Linked DNA regions of Homo sapiens: region 2 is linked to region 1. Evidence: promoter capture Hi-C in 16 types of primary human blood cells and fetal thymus (Javierre and others, 2016). All regions are on one chromosome and are shown on one strand. The core of a region is centred on a gene start or on the middle of the fragment in contact, and the rest is flanking DNA. Distances in the headings are between cores, read along the strand shown. Region 1 holds the start of FUT7 (fucosyltransferase 7). Region 2 overlaps RABL6 (RAB, member RAS oncogene family like 6).

Region 1 (6,533 bases), core at 2,704-5,203:
AAGAGTGACATGCCCAGACCCTGGCGGAGACGCTGGGGTGGCACTCATCTGTGCAGAGATGCCCCCAACCCAGCAAGATGCTGGGGCAGGACCATGCTTGACCCAGAATGTGGGGCGTGTGATCCCCTAGCCAACATCCTAGGAAGCAAGGACATCCCCAGCTTCTGGCCCTGGGAGGCGATCTTGTTCCCCACCCTGGGTGGCTGGGTGGGCCGGCCCCGGGTTCAGAGTCCCTGGCTGCAGCCCTCCCCTACAGCCACACAACACAGAGGAGCGGGTCCCGGCAAAACTTGGGGTGCAGAGTGGGTCCCTGGAGGACCAGAGCCCCACCCAGCAGCTCCACCTGGAGGAGAACAAGGACAGACGTGATCCCCCCACGCCTTGGGGCTCAATGGGATGAGAGTTGGAGGGGAGGGGCTGAGCTCACCCACTGCACCACCCTGTGCTGCCCCTCGACCAATCCCTCCACTTGGGGGTCCCCTTGGCCACCTGCCAGGCTCCGTGCACCCACCCAGCTTTCCCAAGGCGAGGTCCGAGGGGCTCTCCAGCCCCCAGCTCCACCTGTTACTGAGAATAAGGGCAGTCTTCCTTGTTGCCGGAGCCATGTAGCTTTGCAGCATGCCGCCAGGGAGCGCTCGAGACACGCATCTGGACTGCCTTGCTCAAGCCAACCCATGAAGCAGGTGGGGCTCAGGAAGACAGCCAGGCTCAGCCCGCTCCCTGAGACGCCCCTGGGGCTGGGGCTGGGTGCCCCTCACCTTGCTGCTGCCCCGGGTGCCGCTGTCTGCAGGGGGCAGCTGGCCAATGGTCTGCTCTTGGTCTGGAGTGGGGCCCACTGGGTTGAGGCCTCTTCAGTGGGCATCCACCGGGAAGCTGGCCCACAGTGAAGGCTCAGCGGGGAAGAGCTTGTGTCCTGATCATCACGATGCTCACACACCACGGAGCTGGGGTTGGCTGCCTGCCTGGGTCCGCACAAACCCAGGGAGTCAGGAGGCCTGGGTGGGGTGAGATGAGGGGGAGCCCCTGCCCCCCGACTTTCTCTTTGACTCATGCCCTTTTCTTTCCTCTGAGAGGCTTTCGTTCTGACCCATTTCTGGGCAAAACCCCCGAGCCCCGTTTGCCAGCTCGCAGGTTCCCACGCACGATTGGGCCCCATGGCAGCCACCCTGCCCAGGGTCCTCAAGGAGCAAGCTAGGGGCGGAGGGTGGGGGAGGCTCCTTCAAATCCACCCAGGGAGGGAGCAGGCTGTGGCTGCGGCTGAGGTCGGTGGCAAGGGACCCTGCCAGCCTGGCAGCACAAACAGGAAGGATGGCAGGCTCTGGCACCAGAGGCCGGGTCACCCGCAGGCGTGGCAGGACAGCCTCCTTCCTGCAGGAACTGCCGCCGGGTGTCTGTTTCAAGGAGAAGAGATGGGGTGGTGTGAGGCTGAAGCCAAGGTGTGGCTCCCCGGGGGCCCCCTGCCAGAGGAGGAACGCTGGGGTGGGATTAAAGGCCCAGGTGCCACTGTGGTCATCACCGAAAACATGGGAGGCTGGAAAGGCGGGGCTGGAGGCAGCTGCCCACTCTGGTGCCAGCCCCTAAGCCAAGCAGCTCAGGCACTGACAGTTTCCCGTGGCGCCCACAGGCACCCCTCCCTCCAAACCCCCCTCCCTCCAAGCTCCCCTCCAAGCTCCCCTCCCTCCAGCCCCCTCCCTCCAAACCCCCCTCTCTCCAGCCCCCCTCCCAAGCCCCCTCCCTCCAAGTCCCCCTCCCTCCAGCCCCCCTCCCTCCAGCCGTTGCACAAGTTCCGCAGCAAAGCTCAGCTCAGAGGCTACACTGCGCCACAGGGGTGGGGGCCTCTGACTACCACCCTGTCCCAGTCTTGCCTCTGTCCCCACAGTGGGATCCTCCCACTTCAGTCTCCAGCTGCCTGGTTCCCCTCCCAAGGCAGCCTTGTCCTCACTGTGGGGCCGGGGAGAGGCCAGCAGCCCCTGGGGCCCAAAAGTAGAACAGGACAGGGACAGGGGTGGTGGGAGGCAGGCCCCCTCTGAGGGTGCTGGGGCAAAGGTCTGGACAACAGTTCATGGTTGCCATTCCTCCCAGGACACACGATCTGAGCCCCCAAAAGACCTGACAGGACAGACGCGTCCTCATTCCCAGCATCCCAGCATTTTGGGAGGCCGAGGTGGGAGGACTGCTTGAGCCAGGAGTTTGAAACTAGCCTGGACAACATAACAAGACTCTGCCTCTACAAAAAATTTTAAAAAATTAACCAGGCATGGTAGTGCACACCCATAGACCCAGCTCCTTGGGAGGCTGAGGTGGGAGCATTGCTTGAGCCCAGGAGGTTGAGGCTGCAGCAAACCGTGACTGCGCCACTGCACTCCAGCCTGGGCAACAGAGCAAGACCCTGTCTCAAAAAACAAAAAACAAAAACCCACACACAAAAAAGCAAACTTGGCTGGGCGCGGTGGCTCATGCCTGTAATCCCAACACTTTGGGAGGCTGAAACTTGTGGATCACCTGAAGTCAGGAGTTTGAGACCAGCCTGGCCAACATGGGAAAACCCCATCTCTACTAAAAATACAAAAATTAGCTGGGCGTGGTGGCAGGCACCCATAATCCCAGCTACTTGGGAGGCTGAGACAGGAGAATCACTTGAACCCGGAAGGTGGAGGTTGCAGTGAGCCAAGATCGCACCACTTGATCCTGACTTCAGGTGATCCACAAGCCTTGGCCTCCCAAAATGCTGGGATTACAGCCTGGGCGATAGTGCAAGACTCCCTCTCAAAAAACAAACAAACAAACAAACAAACAAACCAAGCCTGACCTGCATTGAGATCTCCAGGACGTCTGGGTCTGGCCACGCCTGGGACCACACAAGGTCCCGTGCAGCAGAGTGGCAACGTGGTTGGGTGAAGAGGCTGATGGGGCCTCCCACTGTGGCTGAGAGTGGGGTGTTGGTTGGCTGGGGCTCAGGGTGACCCCGCAGGGCCATCCCAGCCTGGCTGGCACCCAACGTGGGCTGGTGTAGAAGAAGGAACCTGGCCTCCAGGCTCCAGGCCCTGGCTTAGAGGGAGCGGGGAGTCTGGACTTCAGGCTGGATCCCTTCCTCTTCCTGGAGCGGGTGCTGGCCCCCAACCCGCTTGCGTCAGGGACAAAAGGACTCCTTCCCTTTCCAGCCTGGAAAGCCCCTCTGCTGCAGGCTGGAGGAAGGGACCCTGGGCCCAGCCTATAGTCAGCGGTGTCTATGGGCATGGATCTGGACGGGGAAAAGGACAAAGCAGCCTCCATCCACAGTTCATTCCGGGACCAGGCCCTTGCAGGCACGCGCTGGGCTCCTGTGGGAAGACACTAAGGGCCCCAGGACAGACCTCCTCTCCGGGCATCTGGGTTCCTAGATGGCAGAGGTGGCAGAGTGGGGTGGGATGGCCCAATTGGGAGCTTTAGCTTCCGGCAAAGAGCTGAGCACAGTACATCTTCAATGTGTAAGATTCTCCTGGGAGACCAGGGCCCAGCTGGTGGTGAGCTGGGGGAAGTGGGTGATACTGCCGTGGGAGGAGCCACCTGGCCCTCTGGGGAAGTGCACTCGCTGTCTGCAGCGCCCAGGCCTGGGTAGCTGGGTGGGGGCTGGGGGGCCATCTGTGCTCAGGGTGCCTGCACCTGGGCCTTCTCTGCCCTGGGCCAAGCCTGCCCGAGCCTCTCTGTCCTCTGCCTGCCCAGCTGGACATCTCTGGGCCTCTCTGGAGACCAGTGGGGTGGGCTGTGGGGGCGTCATATTGCCCTGGCTTGGCATCCCTCTTGTGGCTGTACCCCTCCCAGCAGCCCCAGGACTAGCAAGTCCCCGAGATGGGGGTGGGGACAGTGGTTGATGCCAAAGGTTGTGGGGGCAGGGGCGGGGCAGGAGCAGGAAGGTCCCCTGAGTTCCCTCACCTTGGGCAGAGATAAAAGGAGCACAGTTCCAGGCGGGGCTGAGCTAGGGCGTAGCTGTGATTTCAGGGGCACCTCTGGCGGCTGCCGTGATTTGAGAATCTCGGGTCTCTTGGCTGACTGATCCTGGGAGACTGTGGATGAATAATGCTGGTGAGTGTCTGGCCCTCGGGGAGGCCCAAGCTGGGGACAGCTAGGCAACCTGGGAGGGGAGGACGGGGGTGGCGCTGAGTGGGGCATGTCGGTGTCCCTGAGCCCATGGGAGGGGAGGACGGGGGTGGCGCTGAGTGGGGCATGTGGGTGTCCCTGAGCCCATGGGAGGGGAGGACGGGGTTGGCGCTGAGTGGGGCGTGTGGATGTCCCTGAGCCCAAGTGACAGAGCCTCCCCTCCCTCGTGCTGCTGCAGGGCACGGCCCCACCCGGAGGCTGCGAGGCTTGGGGGTCCTGGCCGGGGTGGCTCTGCTCGCTGCCCTCTGGCTCCTGTGGCTGCTGGGGTCAGCCCCTCGGGGTACCCCGGCACCCCAGCCCACGATCACCATCCTTGTCTGGCACTGGCCCTTCACTGACCAGCCCCCAGAGCTGCCCAGCGACACCTGCACCCGCTACGGCATCGCCCGCTGCCACCTGAGTGCCAACCGAAGCCTGCTGGCCAGCGCCGACGCCGTGGTCTTCCACCACCGCGAGCTGCAGACCCGGCGGTCCCACCTGCCCCTGGCCCAGCGGCCGCGAGGGCAGCCCTGGGTGTGGGCCTCCATGGAGTCTCCTAGCCACACCCACGGCCTCAGCCACCTCCGAGGCATCTTCAACTGGGTGCTGAGCTACCGGCGCGACTCGGACATCTTTGTGCCCTATGGCCGCCTGGAGCCCCACTGGGGGCCCTCGCCACCGCTGCCAGCCAAGAGCAGGGTGGCCGCCTGGGTGGTCAGCAACTTCCAGGAGCGGCAGCTGCGTGCCAGGCTGTACCGGCAGCTGGCGCCTCATCTGCGGGTGGATGTCTTTGGCCGTGCCAATGGACGGCCACTGTGCGCCAGCTGCCTGGTGCCCACCGTGGCCCAGTACCGCTTCTACCTGTCCTTTGAGAACTCTCAGCACCGCGACTACATTACGGAGAAATTCTGGCGCAACGCACTGGTGGCTGGCACTGTGCCAGTGGTGCTGGGGCCCCCACGGGCCACCTATGAGGCCTTCGTGCCGGCTGACGCCTTCGTGCATGTGGATGACTTTGGCTCAGCCCGAGAGCTGGCGGCTTTCCTCACTGGCATGAATGAGAGCCGATACCAACGCTTCTTTGCCTGGCGTGACAGGCTCCGCGTGCGACTGTTCACCGACTGGCGGGAACGTTTCTGTGCCATCTGTGACCGCTACCCACACCTACCCCGCAGCCAAGTCTATGAGGACCTTGAGGGTTGGTTTCAGGCCTGAGATCCGCTGGCCGGGGGAGGTGGGTGTGGGTGGAAGGGCTGGGTGTCGAAATCAAACCACCAGGCATCCGGCCCTTACCGGCAAGCAGCGGGCTAACGGGAGGCTGGGCACAGAGGTCAGGAAGCAGGGGTGGGGGGTGCAGGTGGGCACTGGAGCATGCAGAGGAGGTGAGAGTGGGAGGGAGGTAACGGGTGCCTGCTGCGGCAGACGGGAGGGGAAAGGCTGCCGAGGACCCTCCCCACCCTGAACAAATCTTGGGTGGGTGAAGGCCTGGCTGGAAGAGGGTGAAAGGCAGGGCCCTTGGGGCTGGGGGGCACCCCAGCCTGAAGTTTGTGGGGGCCAAACCTGGGACCCCGAGCTTCCTCGGTAGCAGAGGCCCTGTGGTCCCCGAGACACAGGCACGGGTCCCTGCCACGTCCATAGTTCTGAGGTCCCTGTGTGTAGGCTGGGGCGGGGCCCAGGAGACCACGGGGAGCAAACCAGCTTGTTCTGGGCTCAGGGAGGGAGGGCGGTGGACAATAAACATCTGAGCAGTGCCTCGTGGGTCTGGCCAGTGTCTCATGGGTCACCTCCGTGCAGGGCCACAGAGCCTGCATCTGCCCTCCCCTGACATGTCGCCCCCACGGCCATGGGGCTGCTTGTTCCCCACGGGGGGTCCTGTCGCCTGACTTCTGGGCCTTTGCTCACCCTCCGCCTGAGAGCCCTCCCTGTGCCGGGCTGCCCACTGGCTACCCCAGTTCCTACAGCCTCCGCCAGACGGCCCCTTATCAGAGAGCCTTCTGTGTCCCCCAAAAGGCCAAGGCGATGAGCCCAGGAGTTCGAGACCAGCCTGGGCAGTGTAGTGAAATCTCATCTCTACCAAAAATACAAGAATTAGCAGGGCGTGGTGGCTCACGCTTGTGGTCTCAGCTACTTGGGATACTGAGGTGAGAGGATGGCTTGAGCCCAGGAGGTTGAAGCTTCAGTGAGCCGTGATCACACCACAGCACTCCAGCCTGGGCAACAGAATGAGACCCTGTCTCAAAACAAAAACCAAAACAGGCCAAGGTTGGGGAAGAGTAGGGAACGGACGTCAGAGGCCTGGCCAGGCTGAAATCGCCCATCTCCCAGGCCCGCAGGCTGGAGGGTGTCTGGGGTGACAGGGTCTGACCTGTGCCTTGTAGCTCCCTCTGGTGGCCAGTGCTGGGGAGGCACTGGGGATG
Region 2 (6,533 bases), core at 3,298-5,797, 220 kb after region 1:
CGAGGCAGGTAAAAACCAAGGTGACCCCAAGAAAATGGCTGCTCCCCCAAAGGAGGCAGAAGGAGGAAGTGAAGATGAGGAAATGTCAGAAGATGAAGAAGATGACAGCTGTGGAGAAGAGACTGTCACACCTCAGGAGAAAGGCAAGAAGGCTGCTGCAACCCCAGCCAAGAAGGTGACAGTTTCCCGAACAAAAAAGGCTGCAGGTGCCACACCCACCAAGAAAGCAACTGTCACTCCAGGCAAAGCAGTCGCCACACCTGCCAAGAAGGGAGCCATAGCAGGCAAAGCACTGGCAGCAGCTCCTGGCAAGAAGGGACACCCCAGCCAAGGGGGCAAAGAACGGCAAGAACGCCAAGAAGGAAGACAGCGATGAGGAGGAGGATGACTCTGAACCAGCAGTGATGAAGGCAGCAGCGGGTGCCCCTGCCTCAGGGGATGAGGACGAGGACGATGAGGACGATGCTGAGGAAGATGGCTCTGAAGCAGCACCTATGGAAACAACACCAGCCAAAGGAAAGAAAGCTTCTACAAATGCTGTTCCTGGGAAAGCCAAGAGGATGGCTGGGAATGAAGATGAAGAGGATGATGAGGACAAGGACGAGGGTGACGATGATGAAGAGGATGAAGTGATGAAGACGACAAAGAGGAGGAAGGGTCTGTCAAAGAAGCACCTGGAAAATGAAGGAAATGACCAAACAGCAGCTTCTGAAGCCAAGAAACACAAAGTGGAGAGTGAGAAGCACAGAACCAACTGTGCCTTTTTTTTTTTTTTAAGACAGGGTCTCACTCTCTCGCCCAGGTTGGACTGCAGTGGCGCAATCTTGGCTCACTGCAACCTTCACCTGCCAGGCTCAAGTGATTCTCCTGCTTCAGCCTCCTGAGTAGCTGGGATTACAGGCGTGTACCACTACCACCCGGCTAATTTTTGTATTTTTAGTAGAGACGGGGTTTCACCATGTTGGCCAGGCTGGAACGTCTTTCAATCTTTGTTGGAAACCTGAACTTTAACAAGTCTGCTCCTGAGTTAAAAACTAGTATCCATGGGCCAGGCCTGGTGGCTCACGCCTGTAATCCCAGCACTTTGGGAGGCTGAGGTGGACAGATCACAAGGTCAGGAGTTTGAGACCAGCCTGGCCAACATAATGAAACCCTGTCTCTACTAAAAATACAAAAATTAGCCGGGCGTAGTGGTGCGTGCCTGTAGTCCCAGCTACTGGGGAGGCTGAGGCAGGAGAATCACTTGAACCCGGGAGGTGGAAGCTGCAGTGAGCACCATTGCACTCCAGCCTGGGTAACAGAGCAAGACCCTGTCTCGAAAAAGAAAGAAAAACAAAAACTAGTATCCATGATATTTTTGCTAAAAATGATCTTGCTGTTGTGGATGTCAGAATGGGTATGACAAGGAAATCTGACTATGTGGATTTTCAAGCTGCTGAAGACCTGGAAAGAGCCTTGGAACTCGCTGGTTTGAAAGACTTTGGCAATGAAATTAAACTAGAGAAACCAAAAGGAAAAGACAGTAAGAAAGAGCAAGATGTGAGAATACTTTTGGCTACAAATCTCCCTTACAAAGTCACTCAGGATGAATTACAAGTGTTTTGGCTGGGCGCAGTGGCGCAGTGGCTCACACCTGTAATCCCAGCACTTTGGGAGGCCAAGGCAGGCAGATCACGAGGTCAGGAGATCAAGACCATCCTGGCTAACACGGTGAAACCCTGTCTCTACTAAAAATACAAAAAATTAGCTGGGTGTGGTGACGGGTGCCTGTAGTCCCAGCTACTCGGGAGGCTGAGGCAGGAAAATGGCGCAAACTTGGGAGGTGGAGCTTGCAGTGAGCTGAGATCACGGCCACTGCACTCCAGCCTGGGCAACAGAGCGAGACTCTGGCTCAAAAAACAAAAAAGTGTTTGAAGATGCTGTGGAGATTGGATTAGTCAGCAAGGATGGGAAGAGTAAAGGGACTGCTTATATTGAGGTTAAGACAGAAGCTAATGCAGAGAAAACTTCTGAAGAAACGCAGGGAACAGAGATGGATGGCCGATCTATTTCCCTGCACTATCATGGAGAGAAAGGTCTAAATCAAGACTAGAGAGACCACTTGGAGGGGTGAATCAAAAACTCTGGTTTAAGCAACCTCTCCTACAGTGCAACAGAAGAAACTCTTCAGAAAGAATCTGAGACAAGGCAACTTTTATCAAAGTGCCCCAGAACCAAAATGGCAAATCTAAAGGGTGTGCATGCACTTACAGTTCGCTTCATTTGAAGATGATAAAGCAGCTTTAAATTCCTGTAATAAAAGGGAAACTGGGGGCAGGGCAATCAGGCTGGAGTTGCAAGGACCACCTGATGCCAGGAGCCAGCCATCTAAAACTGTCTGTCAAAGGCCTGTCTGAGGACACCACTGAAGAGGCTTTAGTCATTCGACAGCTTTGTTGGGCAAGGGTAGTCACCAACCAGGAAACCGGGTGCCCCAAAGGCTTTGGCTCTGTAGATGGCAACAGTGAGGAGGATGCCAAAAGCGCCAAGGAGGCCGCGGAAGATGGTGAAATTGAGGGAAACAAAGGTAACTTGGACTGGGCCAAACCTAAGGGCGAAGGTGGCTTTGGGGTTGTGATGGAGGTAGAGGAAGCTTTGGAGGATGAGGTGGTGGCAGAAGCCAGGAAGGCTTTGGTGGGCGAGGCAGCTTCTGGGGAGGCAGAGGTGACCACAAGCCACAAGGAAAGAAGACAAAGTTTGAACGGCTTCTGTCCCTTTGTCTTTCCCTCTCCCATTTGAAAGAAAGGACGCTGGGGTTTTTATTCCGTTACCTGATCAATGACAGAGCTCTCTGAGGACATTCCAAGACAGTCTACAGTCCTGTGGTCTCCTTGGAAATTCGTATAGACAACATTTCAAGGGTAATACCTTCCTTGTTTGTTTTGACTGGATATTCATATAAACTTTTCTTTCTTTTCTTTTTTTTTTAAGACGAAGTCTCACTCTGTCGCCCAGGCTGGAGCGCAGTGGTGTGATCTTGGCTCACGGCAACCTCTGCCTCCCGGGTTCAAGCGATTCTCCTGCCTCAGCCTCCCGAGTAGCTGGGATTACAGGCATACGCCACCACACCTGGCTAATTTTCATATTTTCAGTAGAGATGAGTTTCATCATGTTGGCCAGGTTGGTCTTGAACTCCTGACCTCATGTAATCCGCCCACCTCAGCCTCCCAAAGTGCTGGGATTACAGGTGTGAGCCACCGTGCCCGGCCTGCTAAGTCCCATTTCTAAATTCGCACCAGTGTCTACTCAGAGAGGACTCTGGTTGTCCGAGCTCCTGGGCCAGGCCAGTATCAGAGCTGCACAATAATGCTCACTCAGGAGCAACTCCACAGAAAAATTCTGCACCAAATACAACTGATATTTTGTGTCCAGTCACAGTAGAAAGGGACAGACCAACTCAGGCAACAATCTTTCTTCCAAATAATTTCAAATAATTTTCCTAATAATTTTATATGCAAATAATTTCAAAATTGTGTAAACCAAAATTAAAATCCCAAGGCCTGCCAACCATCTGAATGGACTTCCTCTTCTAGGCCAGGGCCATCCAAATTTCATCTGAAAGACTGGTTCAGGCCATTATGGGAAGAGGGGAGTCAGACAGGCCTCATTGTGGCCTCCTCCCTTCTGGAATTCAGGAAAAGCTCACCAGCATTTAACATCAACACTGACTTTAAGTCTGATAAGAAACATAATCTGGCCAGGCGCGGTGGCTCACGCCTGTAATCCCAGCACTTTGGGAGGCCAAGGGGTTCGGACTGCTTGAGTAGAGGGGTCTGAGCCCAGCTGGGCAACGTGGTGAAACCCTGTCTCTCTAAAAAATACCAAAATTAGCTGGGTGTGGTGGTGCAATTGTTTTTTTTTTTTTTTTTGAGACAGGGTCTGACTCTGTCACCCAGGCTGGAGTGCAGTGGCACAATCTCAGCTCACTGTAACTTCTGCCACTTGGGCTCAAGCGATTCTCCCGCCTCAGCCTCCTGAGTAGCTGGGATTACAGGCACCCACCATCACACCCGGTTAATTTTTATAGTTTTAGTAGAGACGGGGTTTCGACATGTTGGCCAGGCTGGTCTTGAACTCCTGGCCTCAGGTTGTCCGCCTGCCTCGGCCTCTCAATGTGCTGAGATTACAGGCGTGAGCCACCGCGCCCGGCAAAAAAACACAATTTTTTTAAACTACCTCCGACCTGGAAGCCCCCACTTCAAGTTGTCCCGCCTTTGTGGACCAAATCAACATATATCTTAAATGTATTTGATTACTGTCTCATGTCTAAAATGTATAAAACCAAGCTGTGCCCTCCACCTTGGGCACATGTCCTCAGGGTCACCTGAGGGCTATGTCACGAGCCATGGTCACTCATATTCAGCTCAAAAATAAATCTCTTCAAATATTTGACAGAGTTTGACTTTTTCATCCATTATGGTCCAATGTCTCATTCGAGTTTTTATTCTAAAACCAGTGGGTGTCCCACACGTCTACCGGGACCACTAGCAACTCCGAGCAAATGCAGGGCCCAGGAGGAGAGCCCAGACTCCTGGAAACCCGCAGCAGTTCCCAGAAACTCTCACCCCCAAAACCCTCGACTCTGTCTTGATCACATTGCTGGTCTGTTACGCTCTGTAAAATATTTGAGAAAATAAATACCAGAAAGCCGGGCATGGTGGCTTACGCCTGTAATCCCAGCACTTTGAGAGGCTGAGGCGGGCAGATCACGAGGTCAGGAGATTGAGACCATCCTGGCTAACACGGTGAAATCCTGCCTCTACTAAAAATACAAAAAATTAGCCGGGCGTGGTGGCCGGTGCCTATAGTCCCAGCTACTCGGGAGGCTGAAGCAGGAGAATGGTGTGAACCCGGGAGGAGGAGCTTGCAGTGAGCTGAGATCACGCCACTGCACTCCAGCCTGGGAGACACAGCAAAACGCAAAACTCTGTCTCAAAAAAGAAAAGAAAAGAAAAGAAATACTAGAAACTTTCTATTCTAACACAGAAACTCAAAAGTTTTAAAATTGCATGTTATTCAGCTATAAAGATAACATCTTTCTAAAATGTAATTTAGGTACAAATTCAAATTTCTCTCTGTCTCACCACCTTTCATTCAGTTCTAGGAGATCATAACCTGTTCTCCAAGTACTGGAGACTGGCTTTTCTCCTCTGGAAGGACCCCATTGCCCTTTTTAGTCACACTCGCCCAGGACCACACAGGGGTGGTCCTGGTGCATGAGGTGGACCTTGCCCAGGACCCTCGGGGAGCCTTTTCAGAAGGTGAACAGTTTCCAGGTCCAGGCCTGATTTCCCAGGGACTAATACTGAGCTTAGCCAATACTGTAAGCAATAAAATTAAATAAAGGATCCAAACGCAGAGTCTAAAAACTGGCGTAAACTCAGTTATTTTGACTCAATATTCTCTTCTCCGAATGCCAGCTATGTATAAAGTTTCAATTATAACACATTTAAAATCAGCTTTTATTTTTATTCAAAATGCACCACTTTATTTTCCTTACCAGACAGCCAAGCATTAAGCACGTTCCAGTCACGTGACTTCTTCAGCGAGCCCCCAGGCTTCCACTCCACGGGAGTCTGGGAGCTCCTGGACAGAGGAGTCCTGAGATTTCAAATAGTCAAGCCTTCTCCCCAGCCACAAGTTCCTTTGATGCTTGGGTTACTGAACACAAACGCAATGGATTGTTTGTCTTCAACATAATCCGTTTCTGTTCCTAAACGTGTTGGCTGCGCTTTCTTTCTGATGAGCACGCTGACTCTAATTTGAACTTCATCAAAATCTTCTTTGTCGTCGTATGTTCTAGAGTATAAGAAAAGCCAATACGGCCCTTGGTTCGGACATCAACTTTCTTTTAAATTTTTTTTTCGTATTTTTAGTAGAGACGGTGTTTCACTATGTTGGCCAGGCTGGTCTCGAATTCCTGACCTCGTGATCTGCCCGCCTTGGCCTCCCAAAGTGCTGGGATTACAGGCATGAGCCACCGTGCCCGGCCCGGACACCAACTTTCATACCTAGATGCTCAGACTTATCTTTAAGAAGTTGTTTTATCTTGCTTACTGCTAAAGGTGTCTGGGTGAGGGTGGCCCGAGTGGTCTGCAGCTTCCTCTTGCTCACAGGCCGGGGGACTAAGGAAGGCGACATCTTCACTGTCCTCCTGGACTAGCTCCAGCCCCAGGAACTACGGCCTCTCTCCGTGCACACGGCACGCGAATTCATGAACTTGCTTTTAAACCTGCACAAGAGTCTTTCTGATCATTAGTTCTTAAAATTCTACATTACCATGGAAATATCACGGAGGCTCTAAGGCTCCCCTTAAAGTGACCAAAAAACTGGATAGGCGTAGCGTCCTAAAACCTCATAGAAACATACGGAAATGGCTAAGAGGGAAGCAATGTCAAAACAGGGAACCACATAAAAGCTTTCAAAAACTACTGGGAAAGAGCCCGCAAGATGGAAAAACTCATAAGAGGTCGAGGACAATTTACACAATTTAT

Evidence for each region. Contacts are between HindIII fragments. The CHiCAGO score rates a contact against its expected background, and 5 or more counts as called.
Region 2: a fragment that was not itself captured here is called in contact with the fragment with the promoter of FUT7 in region 1 in 3 of 17 cell types (naive CD4 T cells, non-activated CD4 T cells and naive CD8 T cells); the score reaches 7.2 in naive CD4 T cells.

What each region holds. Positions count from the first base shown.
Region 1 is chr9:137,029,508-137,036,040 of GRCh38, reverse strand. FUT7 (fucosyltransferase 7) reads left to right here and starts at 3,953. Exons shown (of 2, transcript NM_004479.4): 1 at 3,953-4,062; 2 at 4,316-5,867. The coding sequence starts at 4,050. The coding sequence ends at 5,331. It overlaps LINC02908 (long intergenic non-protein coding RNA 2908), which reads right to left. Exons shown (of 3, transcript NR_171031.1): 2 at 2,810-4,043; 3 at 1-1,391. RefSeq lists enhancers at 1-462, 463-1,351, 1,204-1,403, 3,809-3,918. The HindIII fragment of the contact is 19,925 bases long and covers 1-6,292 here.
Region 2 is chr9:136,808,993-136,815,525 of GRCh38, reverse strand. All of the region lies in intron 1 of RABL6 (RAB, member RAS oncogene family like 6), which reads right to left. It also overlaps the pseudogene LOC100422233 and the pseudogene NCLP1. Among named protein-coding and RNA genes, the nearest start is that of CCDC183-AS1, 3.4 kb to the right of the region's middle. The HindIII fragment of the contact is 3,825 bases long and covers 2,635-6,459 here.